Linked DNA regions of Homo sapiens: region 1 is linked to region 2. Evidence: promoter capture Hi-C in human tissues and cell types (Jung and others, 2019). All regions are on one chromosome and are shown on one strand. The core of a region is centred on a gene start or on the middle of the fragment in contact, and the rest is flanking DNA. Distances in the headings are between cores, read along the strand shown. Region 1 holds the start of SLC30A4 (solute carrier family 30 member 4). Region 2 holds the start of SHF (Src homology 2 domain containing F).

Region 1 (5,247 bases), core at 2,199-4,698, 330 kb before region 2:
GAAGGGGAAAGGAGGGGGGAAGGGGAAGGAAGGAAGGGGAAAGGAGGGGGGAAGGGGAAGGAAGGAAGGGGAAAGGAGGGGGGAAGGGAAGGGAGGGAAGGGAAGGAAGGAAAGAAAAAAGAAAGAAAGCTGAGATAGGCTGAAAGCTATGCCTCTTCTTTTTTTTTTTTTTTTTTTGAGACGGAGTCTTGCTCTGTCGTCTAGGCTGGAGTGTAATGGTGCGAGGCTCACTGCAACCTCCGCTTCCCAGCTTCAAGCGATTCTCCTGCCTCAGCCTCCCAAGCAGCTGGGAGCTACTCGGCACATGCCACCACACCCAGCTAATTTTTGTATTTTTAGTAGAGACAGGGTTGTCTCTACTATGGTAGAGGTCCACCATGTTGACCAGGCTGGTGTCGAACTCCTGACCTCAGGTGATCCGCCTGCCTCAGGCTTCCAAAGTGTTGGGATTACAGGCGTGAGCCACCATGCCCTGCACTATGCCTTTTCTTACCCAGGTTGTGAATGCAAATGAAAAGTTCTTTTTTATTGTTTGGGTTTGTTTGTTTGTTTGTATTAAACTTTTATCACTTGACTCTGGGAAATGGGAAGGTTCTTGAAGGAAATTAGAAATACCCAGACCAGCCTGGGCAACATAGTGAGACCCTGTCTCTATTTAAAAATAAATAAATTAAATAATTTTTTTAACAAAAAAGAAAAGTTTGAAGCTAGCAGAGGTCGGTTCATGAGATTTAAGGAAAAAAGCAATCTCCATAACATAAAAGTGCAAGAAGCAGCAGCAAATGCTGATGGAGAAACTGCAACAAGTTGTCCACAAGGTGTAGCTAAGATCATTAAAGGTGACTACAATAAACAACAGATTTTCAATACAGGGGAAACAGCCTTCTATTGGAAGATTCCACCTAGGGCTTTCATAGTTAGACAGAAGTTGATGCCTGGCTTCAAAGCTTCAAAGGACAATCTTACTCTCTTGTTAGAGGCTAATGCAGCCCGTAGCTTTAAGTTAAGGCCAATGCTCATTTACCATTCCGAAAATTCTAGGGCCCGTAGGAATTATTCTAAATCTACTCTACCTGTGCTCTATAAATGGAACAAAACCTGGGTGACTGGCCGGGCGCGGTGGCTCATGCCTGTAATCCCAGCATTTTGGAAGGTCGACCCAGGTGGATCACCTGAGGTCGGGAGTTCGAGACTAGTCTGGCCAACATGGTGAAACCCCATCTCTACTAAAGATACGAAATTAGCCAGGCGTGGTGGCACATGCCTGTAATCCCAGCTACTTGGGAGGCTGAGGGAGGAGAATAGTTTGAAATCGGGAGGCAGAGGTTACGGTGAGCCGATATCGCGCCATTGCACTCCAGCCTGGGCAACAAGAGTGAAACACCATCTAAAAATAAAAATAAATGAATAAAAAAGAAGAAATACCTTTCATAAGGCTATAGCTGCCATTGATTCCTCTGATGGACCTAGGTAAAGTAAATTGAAAAACTTCTGGAGAGGATTCAGCATTCCAGATGCCATTAAGAACATTCGTGATTCATGGGAGGTCAAAATATCAATATTAACAGGATTTTGGAAGAAGTGGATTCTAACCCTAATGGATGATTTTGAGGGATTCAAGACTTCAATGGAGGAAGTAACTGTAGATGTGGTGGAAATAGCAAGAGAACTAGAAGTGGAACCTGAAGATGTGACTGAATTGCTGCAATCTCATAAAATTTGAACAGATGAGGAGTTGCTTCTTATAGATAAGCAGAGAGAGTGGTTTCTTGAGATAGAATCTACTCCTTGTGAAGATGCTGTGAACACTGTTGAAATGGCAACAAAGGATTTGAATATTCCATAAACTTAGTTGATAAAGCAGAGGCAGGGTTTGAGAAAACTGGATTGACTCCAATTTTGAAAGGTCCACTGTGGGTAAAATATTATCAACCAGCATCACACGCCATCAAGAACTCTTTCATGAAAACAAGTCAATCAATATAGCAAATGTCATTGTTGTCTTATTTTAAGGAATTGCCACAGCCACCCCAACCTTCAGCAGCCACCATCCAGATCAGTCAGCAGCCATTAACAAGGAGCAAAGACCCTCCAACTAGCAAAGAATATGACTTGCTAAAGGCCTAGATGATTGATAGCTTTTTTTTTTTTTGAGACCGAGTTTTGCTCTTCTTGCCCAGGCTGGAGTGTAATGGCGTGATCTCGGCTCACCACAACCTTCGCCACCCGGGTTCAAGCGATTCTCCTGCCTCAGCCTCCCTAGTAGCTGGGATTACAGGCATGCGCCACCATGCCCAGCTAATTTTGTATTTTTAGTAGAGACAGGGTTTCTCCATTTTGGTCAGGCTGGTCTTGAACTCCCCATCTCAGGTGATCCGCCCGCCTCGGCTTCCCAAAGGGCCGGTATTACAGGCGTGAGCCACCACGCCCAGCTGATAGCATTTTTTTAGCAGTCATGTATTTTATTTACTTGTTTATTTTTAGAGACAAGGTCTCACTCTGTCGCCAGGCAGGGGTGCGGAGGCACAATCATAGCTCACTGTAATCTCGAACCTCTGGGCTCATGCGACCCTCCTTCCTCAGAGCAATTAACAAATGTATATATACTTTTTCCTTCCTCTCTCCCAATATTTTAAATTAAGGTATGCACATTGTTTTAGACATAACGCTATTACACGCTTAATAGACTACATTATAAACATGATTGTATTTGCACTGGGACATGAAACATTTGTGAGACCTCACTTTGTCATATTGCGGTGGTCTGGAACCAAATTCGCAGTATCTCCAAGGTATGCCTGTACTAGATTTTCTATGCTTGAGTTTAGTCCATATCGTAAATACCTTGGAGGCAAAAGGAACACGGCAGAGAGCACAAAGAGGACAATACATATTTGCTGAAAAACAGTAGGACACAGAACTGCTGACGACGACAGCCTTGCCCTCTCCAGTTGACTGCAGCAAATGTTGCCAATTTGCCAGAGACAAGCAATTCGAGGAGAGAAAAGCTGCTTGCCTTTTCAGTTAGCAAGAAAAGTGCTGGGTTTGTCTTCTGCCGAGCACCCGCAACCCAGATCCCGACCCGAGATTCCTGAGACACACTTTCGGTGGAGGGAACTCCTAGCAGCAACGCCCAGCCCCCGGCGTGACCCTCCGACCGCACTTGCCTCCCAGCCTGGGAAGGTGGAAGAGGCCGCCCAAAGTCCCCTCAGTTGGCCAGTGAGTGACCCCTGGGCGGAGGCGGCGCAGTGGCCCCCAATCCAGCCTCGGGGCGAGAGGCGGGGCGCGCCGCGCGCCCCCGCCCATCGCGGGCGCCCCAGCCCTGCGCGCCAGGCCTGCGTGTCCTCGCGCCGACCCCTCCCTCGCGCGCCTCGCCCGGCGCACGCGCGTGGCCTCGCGCAGGGCGGGGAGAGGCGGTGGCTGTGGGCGTCCGGCCCCGAACCTGTCAGACCTGGGGAGCCGGCCTCCAGCAGCGGGCGCGGCGGGCGCGAGCACGACCCCACTCTCCTGCGGCCGCGGGTGGAGCAGCGCGAGCCCGCCTCGCTGAGCCGGCCGGGGGCGGGGAGATGAGTTGCGGCCCCGCGGCAGCGCCCCAGGTATTAAATAGATGTGCCGCCCCCTCGCGGAGCCCCGGCGGAGCGTCGGGGTCGGCCCTGCGACCCGCCGCCAGCGGCTTCGGAACTTGAGGACAGGGTTGGGCGCCTTTAATTTATAACGTGTTTCGTTTTCCACAGGATGGGGAGGGACGCGCGGCACTGCCCTCGAGAACTGGCGCTCCGGTGAAGTAGGCGCCGCCGGCCGTCCGCCTCCCCCAAGCCGTTCCGCACCGCGGCCGCTCAGCCTCTGCCATGGCCGGCTCTGGCGCGTGGAAGCGCCTCAAATCTATGCTAAGGAAGGATGATGCGCCGCTGTTTTTAAATGACACCAGCGCCTTTGACTTCTCGGATGAGGCGGGGGACGAGGGGCTTTCTCGGTTCAACAAACTTCGAGTTGTGGTGGCCGATGACGGTTCCGAAGCCCCGGAAAGGCCTGTTAACGGGGCGCACCCGACCCTCCAGGCCGACGATGATTCCTTACTGGACCAAGACTTACCTTTGACCAACAGTCAGCTGAGTTTGAAGGTGGACTCCTGTGACAACTGCAGCAAACAGAGAGAGATACTGAAGCAGAGAAAGGTGAAAGCCAGGTTGACCATTGCTGCCGTTCTGTACTTGCTTTTCATGATTGGAGAACTTGTAGGTGAGTTGTGTTGCCAACTCACTTTCCGTTTACCTTTCCTCGAGAGTCTTTGTCAAGCTGTAGTTACACAGGCTTTGAGGTTTAACCCATCTTTTCAGGAAGTTTGTATTTATCAAGACACTGATCTCATGTGAAAAGGCCACACGGTTCCAAAGTGCAGCTCAATCTAAGTACAATATAAACTCCCCGAGATAACTTTGACTTTCTCTTCTAGTTGTTCAACCACTGTCATCTACCGTAAAGTTAAGGACGTTATCTTCATTGTATGTCATGTAACTTCCTCTTTTTACAAAGGTCTGGTAAAATACCAGGTTAATTTTCGCAACGTTTAAAATAGTAAATGATCGTAAATAACTTAAGATCATAGAATTTTACAGTATGAAGGGACCTTACTGAACACCTGCTCCACCTCCTTTTTTTTTTTACATGTAAGGATTTCCAGGGCACAAACCAGTGGAATAAGTCGTGAGGGCCACTTAGGGAGTTAATGGAAGAGCCACATCTACAGTCCCAGCATTTTTTTCCTCTACATTTGACCTAAGTGGTTTCTTTTATACGATTTCCTTTTGTATTTATAGCCAAGAGATTTGCAAAATTAATTACCAACTAACATGAAATTTTTGCCTCGTAAGAAGGGCCTGAAATGAACCAGAGGACTCCGCCAAAGTTCTATGAGCCTGGTTTTCTTGTTCATTTTTTAATTATACGAACAATCCGTTCTCAATATAAGATACATTCTTAGTTTAGAGGTTATTTTCAATCACGTCAGTATAACTACTAACTTCTCAGTGACAGTTTACAAAGTGACATAAAAGCAGGGAGATGATTCTTACATGTCATCTCTTAAATGATGAACCATGACAAAAACAGGTGGCAGTCCAGATTTAAGATGTTTGACTGGAGGGTTCTATGTGGGAAAAATTATATACATTTCCTACCTTCTTTCATAACACTCCTCCCCAGGGCTCGCTTCAGCCATGCTGGTCTTCTTTTTCCTCTTACAACTCA
Region 2 (5,328 bases), core at 2,622-5,121:
AATTACAGGCTTCAACCACTGTGCCCAGCCTCCAGTATACTTTCTTTGGATTTTTCTGTAGGGTTGATAGTTTTCCCCAAAAAAAATTTGGAAGAAAATAAACTTACATGACAAAAATGGGGAAATTATCATACAATGTTAAGTTAAAAAAGATATAAAATTATGTGTATACCACAATTATAGCTATATAAAACTAAGAATAAGAAAGACAAATTGTCTTTATCCATTTCAACGTTTGTTAAACCGATGCCATGTGACAGGCTCTGCACTTGGTGATGGGAGCACCCATGCTTCCTTACAGAATCCTGATACTATGGCGAACTGCTTAACATGCAAGAATTTGAATCTAGGCTGGGTGCAATGGCTCACACCTGTAATCCCAGCACTTTGGGAGGCCCAAGCGGGAGGATCACTTGAAGCCAGGAGTTTGAGACCAGTCAAAGCAACATAGCAAGAACTTCGTCTCTAGAAAATAAAATACAATAAATTAGCCAGGTATGGTAATGTGCACCTGTAGTACCAGTGCTTTGGGAGGCCGAGGTGGGAGGATTGCTTGAGGCCAGGAGTTCAAGACCAGTCTGAGCAACGTACTGAGGCCCCATCTTTACAAAAAATTAAAAATTAGTTGGGTGAGGCGGATCACACGCGGGAGGTTGAGGTAGGAGAATCGTTTGAGCCCAGAAGTTCAAGGCTGCAGTGAGCTATGATTGTGCCACTGCATTCCAGCCTGGGTAAGAGAGTGAGACCCCATCTCTAAAGGAAAGAAAAGGTAAACAGAATTTGGATCTAGAAAATTCCACCCAATTCTCAGAGGACCCTTGCTGTGATGGCCTCACCTCTGTATCCTTGGTTCCTATCAAGCTGCCTGACTCCATGAGGTGCTCAAACTGCCTGCTTTTAGGAGCTCATACTCTGGTAATGGAGGAAAGTACATTAGCAGATCTTTTAAAACAAGAGTAAGTGTATGGTGCACACAAGTTTTTATAATTTTAAAATTATTGTTTAAACCCTGCCTTTATGACATCTTCCCTCCTTCCCATCTTATTTTATTCCTACTCTTCCCATCATGAATACTCCCCTTTTTTATGGTGTGCGGGTTCCCACCTCTATGCCTTTGTCCAGCTAATGCCGACCTCCTGTCTTGGAATGACCTTTCACTCCTTTGCTTCATCTGTCCAAATCCTACCCAGCTCAGGTCTACCTCCTGTCCTGCATGAAGCCTGCAGACTTGATTGATTTCATTCCTCTGAGCTGTCAAGCAGTTTAACTCATGTCACACCTTCCACTGTAAGCATTTTACAGTTTTCAAACCTTTTTCATATTCATCACCTCCCTTAATCCTCACACAATGATTATCACGCCCTTTCCAGAGATCATGAAAGCAAGTATCAGTAGCATTGAGTACCTTCCCCAAATACCTGGCTACAGCCCACAACTATTGGATTTCTTATTAGTTACCTATCCATGCCCTCACACCTGGTGACTGTGGAGACTCTCTGATATACATTAACTGGACCATTCTTCTCTATTTATCATCTCTATGTCCAGCTTCGTTTTGCACCATTAGTCAATTTAACTGCACATTTTAAAAATATGCACGTTATTTTCTCTATTATACTTCATAAAACCAAGTTCAACATCAGATTCTCCAGTATCTCCTACAGTCCAGCTACTCAACATGTGGTCTGGGACCAGCAGTATCTGTATCACCTGGGACCCCACCCCAGCTAGACCTAGAGAGTCAGAATCTGTAACTTACCAAGATCCCCAGGAGATTAGTGTCCACATTAAAGTTTGAGAAGCACTGTCCTAAATACAAGCAGCACTGGCTTGATCAGAAGCACTGTCCTAAATACAAGCAGCACTGTCTGACCAGTGGCACAATCATAGCTCGCTGCAGCCTTGAACTTCTGGGCTCAAGCAATTCTCCCACCTCAACCTCCCAGGTACCTGGGACTACAAGCATGAGCCACCTCGCCCAACTAGAATTTGCACAAAGCAGGAACTCAACAAATATTTTGAGACTCGGGGCCCTGGGAATCCCAGGAGATTCACAGTTTTGCCATTACATCCTTCTTTACACCCCCCGCTTTGAACTCCTTTCCTTTGGGGCCTCTTGGCTTTTTGCGCCCTCAAAAGGCAGATATGGCCAGGTGCCGTTGGCTCACACCTGTAATCCCAGCATTTTGGAAGGCCGAGGTGGGGAATCACTTGAGGTCAGGAGTTCGAGACCAGCCTAGCCAACACGGTGAAACTCCATCTCTACTAAAAATACAAAAAATTAACCAGGTGTGGTGGCGCACGCTTGTAATCCCAGCTACTAGGGAGGCTGAGCTGGGAGCATTGCTTGAACCCGGGAGGTGGAGGTTGCTGTAAGCTGAAATCGTGCCACTGTACTCCAGCGACGGAGTGAGACTCCGTCTCAAAAAAAAAAAAAAAAAAAAAAAGGCAGACATGAACCTAGGAGTGCGGAGACACTGAGGCAGTGGGGGAAAGGGGGTGGGGTAAAGTGAGGTGAGACAGCTGCTTTCCCAGCAGAGCCAAGAGCAAATGTGTTGGTGTTGGCTTCAGGCCTACATTTATGGTGAGGAACTGGCTTTATTTCTTTCCTTTTCTTTTTTCTTTTTCTTTTTTTTTTTTTTTTGAGACGGAGTCTCACTCTGTCGCCCTGGCTGGAGTGCAGTCGCGCAATCTCAGCTCAATGCAACCTCTGCCTCCTGGGTTCAAGCGATTCTCCTGCCTCAGCCTCCCGAGTAGCTGGGACTACAGGTGCCCGCCACCACACCCGACTAATTTTTTTGTATTTTTGGTAGAGACGGGGTTTCACCGTGTTAGCCAGGATGGTCTCGATCTCCTGACCTCGTGATCCTCCCGTTTCGGCCTCCCAAAGTGCTGGGATTACAGGCGTGAGCCACCGCGCCCAGCCGGAACTGGCTTTATTTCTAAGACAAAAATGCCTAGCACTTGAGCATCTGAGCCTCAAGAGGATAAGGAGTTTGTGATAGACAACACTGGGACTGTTTCTAGACTTGATTTATTGACTTGTCTGTTTCCATTCTGTTACTAATCTGATTGACAATGAAGCCCGGGATGTGGCTGGAAGGGATTTCTGCGTGCGTGCGCATGCTATCGTCAGGGCCATGTGGGCCCGTTTGGAGCAGGTGCTCCCGTGGGTGGGGGATGTTTGAGCGAGGGCTGTTTGCGTGTGAGAAGGGCGTGTGTGAAAACGACACGGGAGAAGTGGGCGTCTCTAGGGAGTTGTTTGTATGTGATGTGAGATGTGTTTGCCTGGATCGGGAAGTAACGTAGGTTCGGGTATGTGCAGTGCGTACGGTTGGATGGGAGGAGGTTGTGGGGCTCCCAAGGTAGCACGGGAGGAGGAGGCTTACAGACACATCTTACAGAACCTAGCCCCTTTTCTTGCCCGCCTAGATTTTCCTCCTAGATTATAGTTTCCCAGTTGCGAGATCCTGGGAGAGGGAAGAGGAGAGGCGTAAGGCTCCCTAGAGTCAGGAGTCTGGGGGCTCCCCTCTTTGCGTCTCGCACGAGCTGGGAGCTGGGGAAAAGAACAGATGGGGATGGATGCGCTCCCCACAGGGGACCGCGTGGCGACACGTAAAGGATTCAACCTCAGTCCAGTAGTCGCATCCTCTGCCCCAGGGCTGCCCACTTCACTTCTTGCCTGTGCATACCGGCTGGAAGCCCGCGTACACTCTTCCGAGCTACGGGAGGAGGAAGACCCTGTTAGGGAGCGGAGCCCCGCCTCTCCCTTGTTACTGAAGCGCCCCGCCCCCTCCCCGCCCGGCGGAGCCCCGCCCCCCTCCCCACCCCCGCCCCCGCCCCCCACCCGCCGCTGCGCTCCCCTCGCTCAGTCTGGCTGGCCCCATGTTACTGAGCGGAGCTCCTCCGGCTGGCTCCCGCCCGGGGCCGCGAACGCAGGGGAGCGCTGGGGGCGGCCCGGGGGGGTCCCGCCGGGGCGCCGGGGGTGCGGGAGCCGGCCCAGGAGGGGGCGGCAGCGGCGGAGTAGCCAAGTGGCTCCGGGAGCACCTGGGCTTCCGCGGGGGGGGCGGCGGCGGAGGGGGCAGCAAGCCGGCGCCCCCCGAGCCCGACTACCGCCCCCCTGCGCCCTCTCCGGCCGCGCCCCCCGCGCCGCCCCCGGACATCCTGGCCGCCTACAGGCTGCAGCGGGAGCGCGACTTCGAAGACCCCTACTCCGGGGGGTCGTCCGGCTCCGCCGCCCTCGCCACCCCTGTCGCCCCCGGACCCACGCCGCCCCCGCGCCACGGCTCTCCCCCACACCGCCTTATTCGGGTCGAGACCCCGGGGCCCCCGGCGCCGCCTGCTGATGAGCGGATCTCCGGACCCCCCGCCAGCAGCGATAGGGTGAGTGCCGCGCCGGGCCGGGATGGCCAGGAGGGAAGGCGGTCAGGGGTCTGGAGGCTGCGAGAGGGACAAAGGTGGCCTGGCCCGGGCCCCTCGGTGTCTCAGCTTCTGGCAGACGCGAGCCCCTGACCCCGGGGTTCCGAGCCTTCACCCACCTTTGTTCAGATTCTCAACCGACTAATCTGAGACGGAAGCCCCAAACTCTGCCCCTCTGCCCTATCCTTTGTAATGGCCCCAGAACTGGTGACCCTCCCCCTCCCGGGCTGGCTCTCCACTTCGTAGCCCCCTCTAGCCTGATCCATGAGCCTTTTGCTAACGGGAATTGAGGCGCACCTCCCAACCCCCACTGGTTGATGGCCTTTCTGCCCCTCTGGAAGCAGCGGCTCAGTGCCCTTTGATCTCTGACCCTTCCCCCTGGGCATAGCCAGCACAAAGCTCTTCCCTCCTGTTGCCTCTTTGCTTCCTCCTCCTCTTCCTCCTCCTGTTTCTCCAGCCTAAGCATCCTTGCAGGTGCTGAAGCCCCAGAAAGGAGGTGAAGACGGGTTTCTCCTTGCGGACACAGCACGAGCTGGCCTTTGCCCTATAGGCTGTTGTTCTCAGGAGGCGAAGACAGGCAGCTTACAGCTCTTGCCAAGGGGGCTTCGTGGGGTCCAGGCCCACTCCTCCCTCCTTCCCTCGTCCTCTCAGGTATGAGGATAGTCAGTGCTCAGGACCTGTTGCCCACATGGGGCTAAGCAGCTGAGCCCATTCCTCCTCTCCTCCTGGCCTCCCTCTCCCCCTGGTCCATTCTGAGGGAGGCTGGAGCTTTTCCTGGGTCTGCAGGCACCAGGATAGGGAGGAGAACAGGAAATCCACCATGCCTCAGGGCCCTGCCCTGATTCGGGTTGGCCTTATCCCTCCCTGGCAGAGTGAGAGCTGAAAGCCATCCCAGGCCCCTAAATTCTG

The links. Contacts are between HindIII fragments. The study calls those that stand out against the background at their distance.
Region 1: the fragment with the promoter of SLC30A4 here is called in contact with the fragment with the promoter of SHF in region 2 in 1 of the 25 tissues and cell types used here (dorsolateral prefrontal cortex).

The regions. Positions count from the first base shown.
Region 1 is chr15:45,520,956-45,526,202 of GRCh38, reverse strand. SLC30A4 (solute carrier family 30 member 4) reads left to right here and starts at 3,448. Exons shown (of 8, transcript NM_013309.6): 1 at 3,448-3,596; 2 at 3,735-4,239. The coding sequence starts at 3,849. It also overlaps the pseudogene HMGN2P46. RefSeq lists a silencer at 3,256-3,745. The HindIII fragment of the contact is 11,317 bases long and covers 1-5,247 here.
Region 2 is chr15:45,186,509-45,191,836 of GRCh38, reverse strand. SHF (Src homology 2 domain containing F) reads left to right here and starts at 3,871. Exons shown (of 7, transcript NM_001394037.1): 1 at 3,871-4,383. The coding sequence starts at 3,886. It overlaps LOC124903481 (a long non-coding RNA gene), which reads right to left. Exons shown (of 2, transcript XR_007064608.1): 2 at 3,019-3,722. RefSeq lists a silencer at 3,927-3,976 and an enhancer at 4,891-5,328. The HindIII fragment of the contact is 29,845 bases long and covers 1-5,328 here.